Linked DNA regions of Homo sapiens: regions 2 and 3 are each linked to region 1. Evidence: promoter capture Hi-C in 16 types of primary human blood cells and fetal thymus (Javierre and others, 2016). All regions are on one chromosome and are shown on one strand. The core of a region is centred on a gene start or on the middle of the fragment in contact, and the rest is flanking DNA. Distances in the headings are between cores, read along the strand shown. Region 1 holds the start of MRPL52 (mitochondrial ribosomal protein L52). Region 2 has its middle 47 kb from the start of OR6J1. Region 3 holds the start of AJUBA-DT (AJUBA divergent transcript).

What was found. The method cuts DNA at HindIII sites, captures the fragments that hold promoters and counts their contacts. A CHiCAGO score of 5 or more calls a contact.
Region 2: a contact is called between a fragment that was not itself captured here and the fragment with the promoter of MRPL52 in region 1, in 3 of 17 cell types (endothelial precursors, M2 macrophages and M0 macrophages). The highest score is 6.8, in endothelial precursors.
Region 3: a contact is called between a fragment that was not itself captured here and the fragment with the promoter of MRPL52 in region 1, in 1 of 17 cell types (erythroblasts). The highest score is 5.3, in erythroblasts.

What each region holds. Positions count from the first base shown.
Region 1 is chr14:22,828,023-22,831,212 of GRCh38, reverse strand. MRPL52 (mitochondrial ribosomal protein L52) reads right to left here and starts at 1,326. Exons shown (of 5, transcript NM_180982.3): 1 at 1,273-1,326; 2 at 1,103-1,160; 3 at 959-1,026. The coding sequence starts at 1,300. RefSeq lists an enhancer at 1,343-1,422. The HindIII fragment of the contact is 15,350 bases long and covers 1-3,190 here.
Region 2 is chr14:22,689,487-22,692,354 of GRCh38, reverse strand. No RefSeq gene overlaps it. Among named protein-coding and RNA genes, the nearest start is that of OR6J1, 47 kb to the right of the region's middle. The HindIII fragment of the contact is 439 bases long and covers 1,202-1,640 here.
Region 3 is chr14:22,983,398-22,986,688 of GRCh38, reverse strand. C14orf93 (chromosome 14 open reading frame 93) reads left to right here. Exons shown (of 7, transcript NM_021944.4): 7 at 1-795. It overlaps AJUBA-DT (AJUBA divergent transcript), which reads right to left and starts at 2,365. Exons shown (of 3, transcript XR_007064074.1): 1 at 1,869-2,365. RefSeq lists an enhancer at 3,158-3,291. The HindIII fragment of the contact is 743 bases long and covers 1,000-1,742 here.

The DNA of each region.
Region 1 (3,190 bases), core at 77-2,576:
TGAGCCCAGGAGATCAAGGCTGCAGTGAGCGATGATCATGCCACTGCACTTCAGCCTGGGTGACAGGGCAAGACCCCATCTCAAAAAAAAAAAAAAAAAAAAAAAAGCAGTCATATGTAATTCCAGAGTCTTTCCAATAGTCCATACTACTACAAGGAGATGCCAGGCTTCTTACAGTAAATAACAAGTAGAAAAAATCTTCACCATCTTCCTCAGTCACCAATTATCCAATTAAGCAGGATCATACCCCTAGAGAGCAACAATAGGGTATTAAATATTCAGATCTCTGTGTTGTCAAGGAGGACTGGCCTATGTTCTAGTCCTGGATTTGCTACTACCTAGCTGTATGATCATGTGCAATTCACTTCTGTAGGCCTCAAATTTCCTACTTGTACACTGGAGTCTCATAAGGAGAATGGGGAGTAGCTTCAACTTCTCTAAGGTTCTCCCTTCTAGGGCTAATATTTATTCTCCCTCCCTCTCTCTTTTGTAAGTAAAGGTAAAAGAATTTTCTGAAGGGAGCCTGCCATCCATAGTCTTCATCCTTCTACCCCTCTGAGACGCTTATTTCTGCAGCTTTTCAAAGAGCTCTCCCTGCATTTGGTACCAAATACTGAAAATTCACTAACCACAGAGAAAAGTGGTTCTTGGTTAAAAAAAAATGTCCCCCTTTGAAAAACGCAGAAGTCTTGTCACCCCCTTCCACCCTGGCGGCCCCAAGTCAGAATTATCTTCTGCTTATCTCCACAAGCCAAGATCCTGTTTAGCTTTACCTTCCTTAGTCGAAATGCAATCTACAAAATAAACAAGAGGGTTTCTTTCCCCAAATTCCGTTTTCCAAATAAAAAGTTAAACACTTTTACACGCCCCCACCTTGATACCCCCAGCTCCCCGTCCAGGGGCGTTCCCTCTAGGTGAAAATCTCCCCAGTGGAGTTAACTGCCAGATCAGCGCTTACCCGCATATGACCAGTCTGGGAGCTCGGTAAGGGGCCCGTAGCCGGAGGGGTTGGCAGCCAGTCCCTGCCTGTGTGGAGAAAAACAGATCTGTGAGGACCTAGCCCAGCTTCTGGTCCCCCAGGTGCCCTCATCCCAGGACTCACTGTAGTCGCCACTGGCCGCCCGCCCAAGCGGCTACGCTGCAGTGCAGCCTCCGGACACCTGCTGGGAGAACAGAGCAGAGTTGGGGGAGAGGCCGCGCAGCCGGATCAGGGGTCCTGTGCCCGTCCCCAAAGGGCCCCCGAGTCCACGGTCCCTATCTATACCCACTCACTGAAGAGAACAGTCCCTAAAGCAGCCATGCTGAGCAGGAGTAGCCGGGGTAGCCGGAAGTAGGCGTGGCCTCGGTGGCCACGCGCGACGCTATCGGGGAAGCAGGAAGTCGCCATCTTGAATCTGGGTTTTCAATCACGGCTCCGCCATCTTGGGTCATCGTACGGAAGGAGAGACAAAACTGCAGTACAGGTTTTTGAGGTGAAAACGAATTGTCGTTCAGCGCATGCATTCTCAGTGGAAGTCGTGTCCTCCCAGATTAAGCCGTTCTGAACAGTTCCCACAACCTCCCTACAGCGGTCTCTAGTTCATTGAAATTGATATTAATAGTAACTTTGATCTCAGGGGTAACATCCACGTCATTCTACAGATCCTCGCATCACTGTAACACAGTTTTCCTAGACTAAGAAAAGTAATCAAATCTAGAGTTAATCGGAAATTGGGCCAGCCTGGGCAACATGGCGAAACTCCCTCTCTACAAAAAAATGAAAAATTAGCTGGGTGTGGTGGCGCATGCCTGTGGTCCCAGCTACTTGGGAGGCTGAGGTGGGAGGATGGCTTGAGCCTGGGAGGCCGAAGGCTGCAGTAAGCAGAGATCATGCCACTGCACTCCAGTCTGGGTAACAGAGCGAGACCTTGTCTCAAAAAAAATTCTGTGTGATAAGTGCTGTATTAGGCGTAGATTTTATGGAGAACAAAACCAGACATCAATATCCTGATAGAGCTCTCGGTATAAAAGAAACAAGACAGGCCAGGTGCAGTGGCTCACACTTGTAATCCCAGCACTTTGGGAGGCTGAGGCTGGCGGATCACCTGAGGTTGGGAGTTCGAGACCAGCCTGACCAACATGGAGAAACCCTGTCTCTACTAAAAATACAAAATTAGCCAGGCATGGTGGCACATGCCTGTAATCCCAGCTACTCGGGAGGCTGAGGCAGGAGAATTGCTTGAACCCGGGAGGCAGAGGTTGTGGTGATCCAAGATTGCGCCATTGTACTCCAGTCTGGGCAAGAAGAGTGAAACTCCAACTAAAAAAAAAAAAACAGACAATCAAATGATGACATACATGAATATTGTCATTGAGTGCTGGGAAAGGAAATACATGTTGTTTGTGAGTTTATAGTGTGAACTTGATCTACAGTAGACCATCAAAGATGACTTTCCTGAGAAAGGGGTATTGTATTGGAGCTAAGATGTGACATTCCATTTTTATAAGTGCTACCACCGCACATTGCTTAATATTATCCTTGCAACAACCCTGTGAGGTAGGTACTAGAAAGTGGCAAACCCTGATTGGCGACTCCCCTCCTTTTATCACTTGCTATTCAGTACTGTCTTGGAGAAGTCATTTATCCTTCATTTTTTAATTTTAAAAATGCTTAATATGTTACATTTGTGAAAACGATCTAAAAGTGATAATGTGAGTGAAAGTGCTTTATAAATCCTGAAACTCCTACAAAAGAGCCCATTAACTGTCTGCCAGGTGTGAAGGGAAAATATCTTGGTCCTCTTCAAGCTGAGAACCTGGGAACCACTCAGGGCAAATCTGCCTCCAATTCTATCCAAAGTCATCTGTCTACTCACAGAGACAGATGCATATTCTGACTACCTCTTCTGGAAAGACTTGTCAGAAACTCAAAATAATGCAACCATCTGTCTCTCACCTACATGTGACCTGGGGGCCCCCAGTGAGGGGGCCTTGCTTTGAGCTGTCTCTGCCTTTCTGGACAGAACTAATGTGACTTCTTACATTTTCATGTCTCCCTAAAATGTATAAAACCAAGCTACGCCCGGACCACCTTGGGCACATGTCTTCAGGACTTCCTGAGACTGTGTCACAGGCACATCCCCAACCTTGGCAAAATAAACTTTTTAAATTAACTGAGACCTGTCTCAAATTTTGGGGTTTCACATTTTGG
Region 2 (2,868 bases), core at 172-2,671, 140 kb after region 1:
AATATCACTAATTATCAGAGAAATTCAGATCAAAACCACAAAGAGATACTATCTCATACCAGTCAGAAAGGCTATATTAAAAAGCCAAAAAACAACAGATGCTGGTGAGGCTGCAGAGAAAATGGAACACTTACACACTGTTGGTAAGAATGTAAATTAGTTCAGTCACTGTGGAAAGTTTTTTAAAGATTTCTCAAAGAACTTATAACAGAACTACCATTCAACCCAGCAATCCCATTACTGGGTATATATCCAAGAGAAAATAAACTGTTTTACCAAAAAGACATGTGCTTGCATGTTCATTGCAGCACTACTCACAATAGCAAGGACATGGAGTCAACCTAGGTGCCCACTGACAGTGGATTGGATAAAGAAAATATGGTACCTATATAACAAAGAATGCTATGCAGCCATTAAAAAGAATGAAATCATAGTTTTCTGCAGCAACATGTATGCAACTGAAGGGCATTATCCTAAGTGAATTAAAGCAGAAACAGAAAACCAAATATCGCATGATCTCGCTTATATGTAGAAGCTAAATATTGGGTACACATGGACAAAAAGATGGAAAAAATAGACACTGGGGACTACAAGATAGGGGAGGTAGGGAGTGGGGGAGAGGGTGGAAAAACTACCTATCAGGTACTATGCTCACTACCTGGGTGCTGGGTTCAGTCATACCCCAAACCTTAGCACCATACAATTCACCCATGTAACAAACCTGCATGTGTTATGAAAGTTATCACATTCTCTTGGGCTCCCACGCCTTTGCATATGCTGTTCTTCCTACTTGAAATGTTTTCCCGACCTTGGCCAAAAGCAGGTTGAGTTTTCCATTGGAAAACTTTTCTAAGTACTTCCCCCTTCCCTCCACCCAATCATACTTCTCTTGTCTATAAATAGTTCTGATATTGCACTAAATACTGTATCATCACTTCTGTTTTTTTCTTTGTATCCGCCTACTAACAATGTGACCCTGGACACATCCTGACAGCAGGAATTTAATCACATTTTTCTTTGTATTTCCAGCATCTGGCACAAGTACTTATATGGTGACATCATATAGATTGAAATGTTAACCATGATTTTGTTTTGATAAGCCACTGTGTGGAAAACCATGATTTTTTATGAGTATTTCTTATTCCTCTCAATTTGGGTAGGTAGACTGGGAAAGAAATGATGCAGAAGGAAGAGTAAAGCTTTTCTGAAGTTTAAGACTCATGGAGTGGAAAAAAGCTGATGGGTCAGAACATGCCTTTTTACTTCCTCAGATTCTGCACACTAGGGAGAAAGAGGAGACTTGAAAGAGAAGAAAGGACAGTTCAGAGCTAATGGGGCTCCAGAAAGGGGCATAGTGCTTTGCCTTTCCTAATTCCTGGCCAAGTCTGAAAGGGGAAATGATAGAACCACACATAGAGTTGTGGGTCTGAGAACAGAAAAAACTTGTGATTTGCTTTCTGGAAAGGGCCTTCAGGCAATGGCAATACCACAGAGGAGAAGAGGCTACATAAAGTTTCTAGGCAGGTGGGATTTTCAAGAGCATCAAGGAGTTTTCTGCAGCTCAGAGGTGCAGAAATAGAGTAATGAGGTATAGAGTGCCTGAGAGAGGTAAAGAAGTAGCAGGGAGAGCTGCCCAAGCTTCAAGGACCTCACTGAGAAGAATGAGGAGTGATGCACCAGCCACCTGTGTGGACTGACAACCTGGGACAGGGTGGGAGAATGCCAGAGGATAGATGGGCAAAGGACTGGCCATTTCCTAGTCCCTTCCCATCCTCCTCAGAACTTCAGCACAACTCTGAAGAAAAGTGTACTTGTGGGAGAACCCAGAATTGCCTGAGATTTAATTTCTGCCATCAGGCTAATGAGGCACCTAGGGAAATTAAGCTGAGTTTTTAAAATATCCAGAAAGTTAAATTTGTTGCACACGTGAGTCTCTGAACCCAGATGTGTATTTGCTTTACCTGGCATCAGGCAGTGTTATAACTCAATAAATTTATGTAAAATGTAAAAAGGAGTATCAAATTTCCCTAAATAAACTTTGCAATATAAACATAATTTATGTTATTAATTCTTTGTCAATAAAAATGTGGCAACATTCTGCTGCTCTGAGAGCTAGTGTCTCTTGGTCAATTACTTGATACAGTGGAAAAGACTTTGACCTTACAGTCAGATAAATATGGATGTATACACTGGCTCTGCAATCTGCTGGCTGGGTTACCCTTTCTCTCAGAACCTCATTTTACTCACAAAATAGGTGCTTAATATAGTTAGTTTCCTTCCTTTACCTTCTATTTTGTCCCACGATATCTCTGATAGTCTCACCTGTAGAGCTGCCATTACTATTAATATCAAATGGAATTTTTATTGATTATATCAATTAAATAAATTATTATTTTATTATTTTTTCACCATTTTGTTTTAAATTCATGTGTTAGTTATGTGTACTATTCTTTTTTTTTTTTTTGAGACAGGGTCTTGCTCTGTCATGCAGGCTGCAGTGCAGTGGTGTGATCTCAGCACACTGCAGCCTCGACTTGGTGGGCTCAAGTGATCCGCCCACCTCAGTCTCCCAAATAGCTAGGATTACAGGTGCATGCACCCACACCCATCTAATTTTTTTTTTTTTGGAGAGACAGGGTTTTGTCATGTTGCCCAGGCCGGTCTCAAACTCCTGACCTCAAGCAATCTGCTCACCTCAGCTTCTCAAAGTGCTGGGATTACAGGTGGTTATATCTACTATTCCAAAATAATATGTTTATACTACTATTTCTTGATTTATCTACTTTAAGCAATTTGATTTATCTACTTTAAATAACAGGTGAGGAATTTTGCTCACTTACAGTAATACTCTCCACAGGGCTGCTTACA
Region 3 (3,291 bases), core at 122-2,621, 160 kb before region 1:
ATTGGGGAATTGGGTTCCTGATATAATAGCTATTGTTTATTGAATTACATGAGGAAAATTTTACTATTCCTATCTTACAGATGAGGAAATTAAGGCTTAAAGAGTTCCCGTGTCTCACCGGCAGCCTCTCTCTCACTATGTGACCAAGCAAAATACACAGCTTTGTAGCTGTTTCTTGGTCCTGTCAGCCAAGCTGTATTTTGAGGAAGGGGTGTGCATTTTGGATGGATTGAAAAGCAAAAATGGCTTTACATTTATTCAGTCTTATAACAAACATTGATCGCTTTACTAGGTGTCAGGTACTGTGCTATGGATACATTGTTGATAAGGTTGGATGCTGTTCAGAGATTTTTTTAGTTTAGTCAGGAAGCCAGGCAGTGGAGTAGGCAATGAAATGAACTGTGATAAGGGTGACCATGGTGGAGTGTAGTGCACTATGGCAATATACAGCAGGGGTAGCTAACCTACTCTTGCAGTCTGGAAAGGCTTCTTCTGAGAGGGTGTAATGTCTAAACTGGGGAAGAGTTAACCAGAAGGAAAGGGGAGGCTAAGAGAGTGTTCCAAACAGGGAACTGCAGGTACAAAAGTCCAGGGGCAAGAGAGAGTACAGACAAGGTCCAGTTCTACTGCAGACTTTTGGGGAAGGGATAATGCTAGAGGAGAGGCTGGAGAGTGAGACAGACCTCATAATACAGAGTACAGACTTCAACCCAAGGGCAGTGAGAAATCATTGAAAGTTTGTTTTAGCAGGGAAATAAAACGACAGGTTTTGCCTACAGGCAGTCCCCAACTCAACGATGGTTCGACTTAGGATTTTTCAACTTTACGATGGTGCGAAATGATTCAGTATGCTCCTCACCTTATGATGCAGTTATATCAGATAAACCCATTTTAAGCTGAAAATATGGTGAAGTTGAAGAAGCACTTCTGCCTTACGATATTTTCAATTTATAATGGATGGGTTTATTCAGACATAACTCCATTGTAAGTCGTAAAGCTTCTGTACTGAAAAAAATCACTTGACCTCAGGGTATAAGATGGATTGCAGGGAGCAAGCCTTGGCCAGGAGACTTTTGCATTGGTTTCGGAGAGGAAAGACGGTGACTTGACATATATAGTGGTGATGAGGGGAGGACAGATTTGGAAGATGTTTAGGAAGCAGAATTAATAGAACTTGGTGATTGATAGGACTTGGTTGGATTTGAGGTTAAGGGAGAAGGAGGACATAGGGTTGACGCTCAGATTTCTAGTTTAAGCAGCTAACAGGATTGTGCCATTTACTCAGAGAATGTTAGAGGAGCCAGTTTCATGAGGCAGAGAAGATGAGATCAGTTTAGGATATTGGGTGCTTCTGAGACAGCCATTGGAGATGCTAGTAGTTAGTTGAGTTTTTAATTCCAAGAAAGACTGGGCTGGAAATATGGATTAGGGAGTCACCTGCATATACAGATTATAATTAAAGTCTTGGGAACGAAGAGGGCCTTTGGAGATCCCAGCTCCAGTTTAGACTGTGGAGAGGCCACCTGAGGTCATGAGCACTATTGGAGCATGCCCTATTAGCATATGCGTCTTCTACTTCTTCCCCTTCACTCATCTCTGCTTCCAGTTATCCCTTGAAAACACAGGCTGTTCATCCCAGTTGTGCCCATTGCTACCACCAACTCTTGCATGGGCCTCCTTTAATGGCCTCCCAACATTTCATAAGATTTCCTCTCGCATCCTCACCCCAAAGGATCAAAGCTTCCAAATATTAGTAGTTGTGTGGATATTTTGGATGTAATTGGAAGGAAGAATCAAAGTTCTCCTTCCTCATCTGGACACAGGAAAGGAGGGAACACATTATGGTTAATTCTGAAGATGTTGCTCACAGCAGGTTCTAGATGCAATCCGATAGCTCCCCTCTGTTCCTAGTGCTTTCAGTCCTCCCTGCTTCCACTCTGGTAGGAAACTCTCCTCAGGATCAGAGAAAAGCCGTGGCCTTGACCAGGGAAACAGAGGCTGATTCTCAGGGGAGATGAGGTCAGGGAGACAATGCAACTAGGACGAAGAAGCCAAATAGTTTGGCACAAATTAATTTCCCAAAAGATATTAACCTCGTTTCTTTCCACATTCCCTAAGGCTACACTAAGATTATAAAAGGTGTTCAAAATGTTGAGATGAAAATAATATGCATGACTTGTTTGCATATAATTTTCATACTCATTTACTATCTAAATACAAAGGAGTCATTTTCCTTCTCCATTCTACTTCCTCCACCCCTTGCCCCTGATGTTTTAGTCTGGGCAAAAGTAGTTGGCTGGTTTTTAAAAAATTTTTTTGAGACGGAATCTCCCTCTATCGCCCAGGCCTGAGTGCAATGGCACAATCTCGGCTCTCTGCAACCTCCGCCTCCTGGGTTCACGCGATTCTTCTGCCTCAGCCTCCCAAGTAGCTGGGACTACAGGTGCACGCCACCACACCGGCTAATTTTTGTATTCTTAGTAGAGACGGGGTTTCACCATACTGGCCAGGCTGGTTGCAAACTCCTGACCTCGTGATCCCGCCGCCTCTGCCTTCCAAAGTGCTGGGATTACAGGCGTGAGCCACCGCTCCCGGCCGTTGGCTGGTATTTAATTAGGTATGTTTAGCTTCATCTAGGGTTTCTTTAAAAAAAATTATTATTTATTTTTGAGAATTTTTTTGAGACGGAGTCTTGCTCTGTCGCCCAGGCTGGAGTGCAGTGGCCGTGATATTGGCTCACTGCAACCTCTGTCTCCCGGGTTCAAGCGATTCTCCCGCCTCAGCCTCTCGAGTGGCTGGGACTATAGGCGTGCGCCACCACGCCTGGCTAATTTTTGTATTTTTAGTAGAGATAGGGCTTCACCATGTTGGCCAGGCTGGTCTGAACTCTTGACTTCAAGTGATCCGCCCGCCTCAGCCTCCCAAAGTGGTGGGATTACAGGCGTGAGCCACCGCGCCCGGCTGCTTCAGCCAGGGTTTCTTTTCCTTATTCTTGATCCTTTTAAAATAGTCAATATCAGCCTCTTTTCCATCCTGATCATTTTCATTTGCAATTTCCTCTACACGGCATTTCTTTTCTTCCTCTTAATACTTACTCTGTATCACCAGTCTTCTGTGGACCAAAACCAAAGGGAGAAGGTGTTCGCTAGCCCTAAAACCAGGCCTTCGATCTCCACAGTCACCTGAAATGAGAAAAATCTCATTTCCCAACACCAGGGGGTGTCTATCCCTCTAACTGTCCTACCCTTAAGGTAGAGATTAGTCCCAAACCTTTTCCTCACTCCTTTTCAC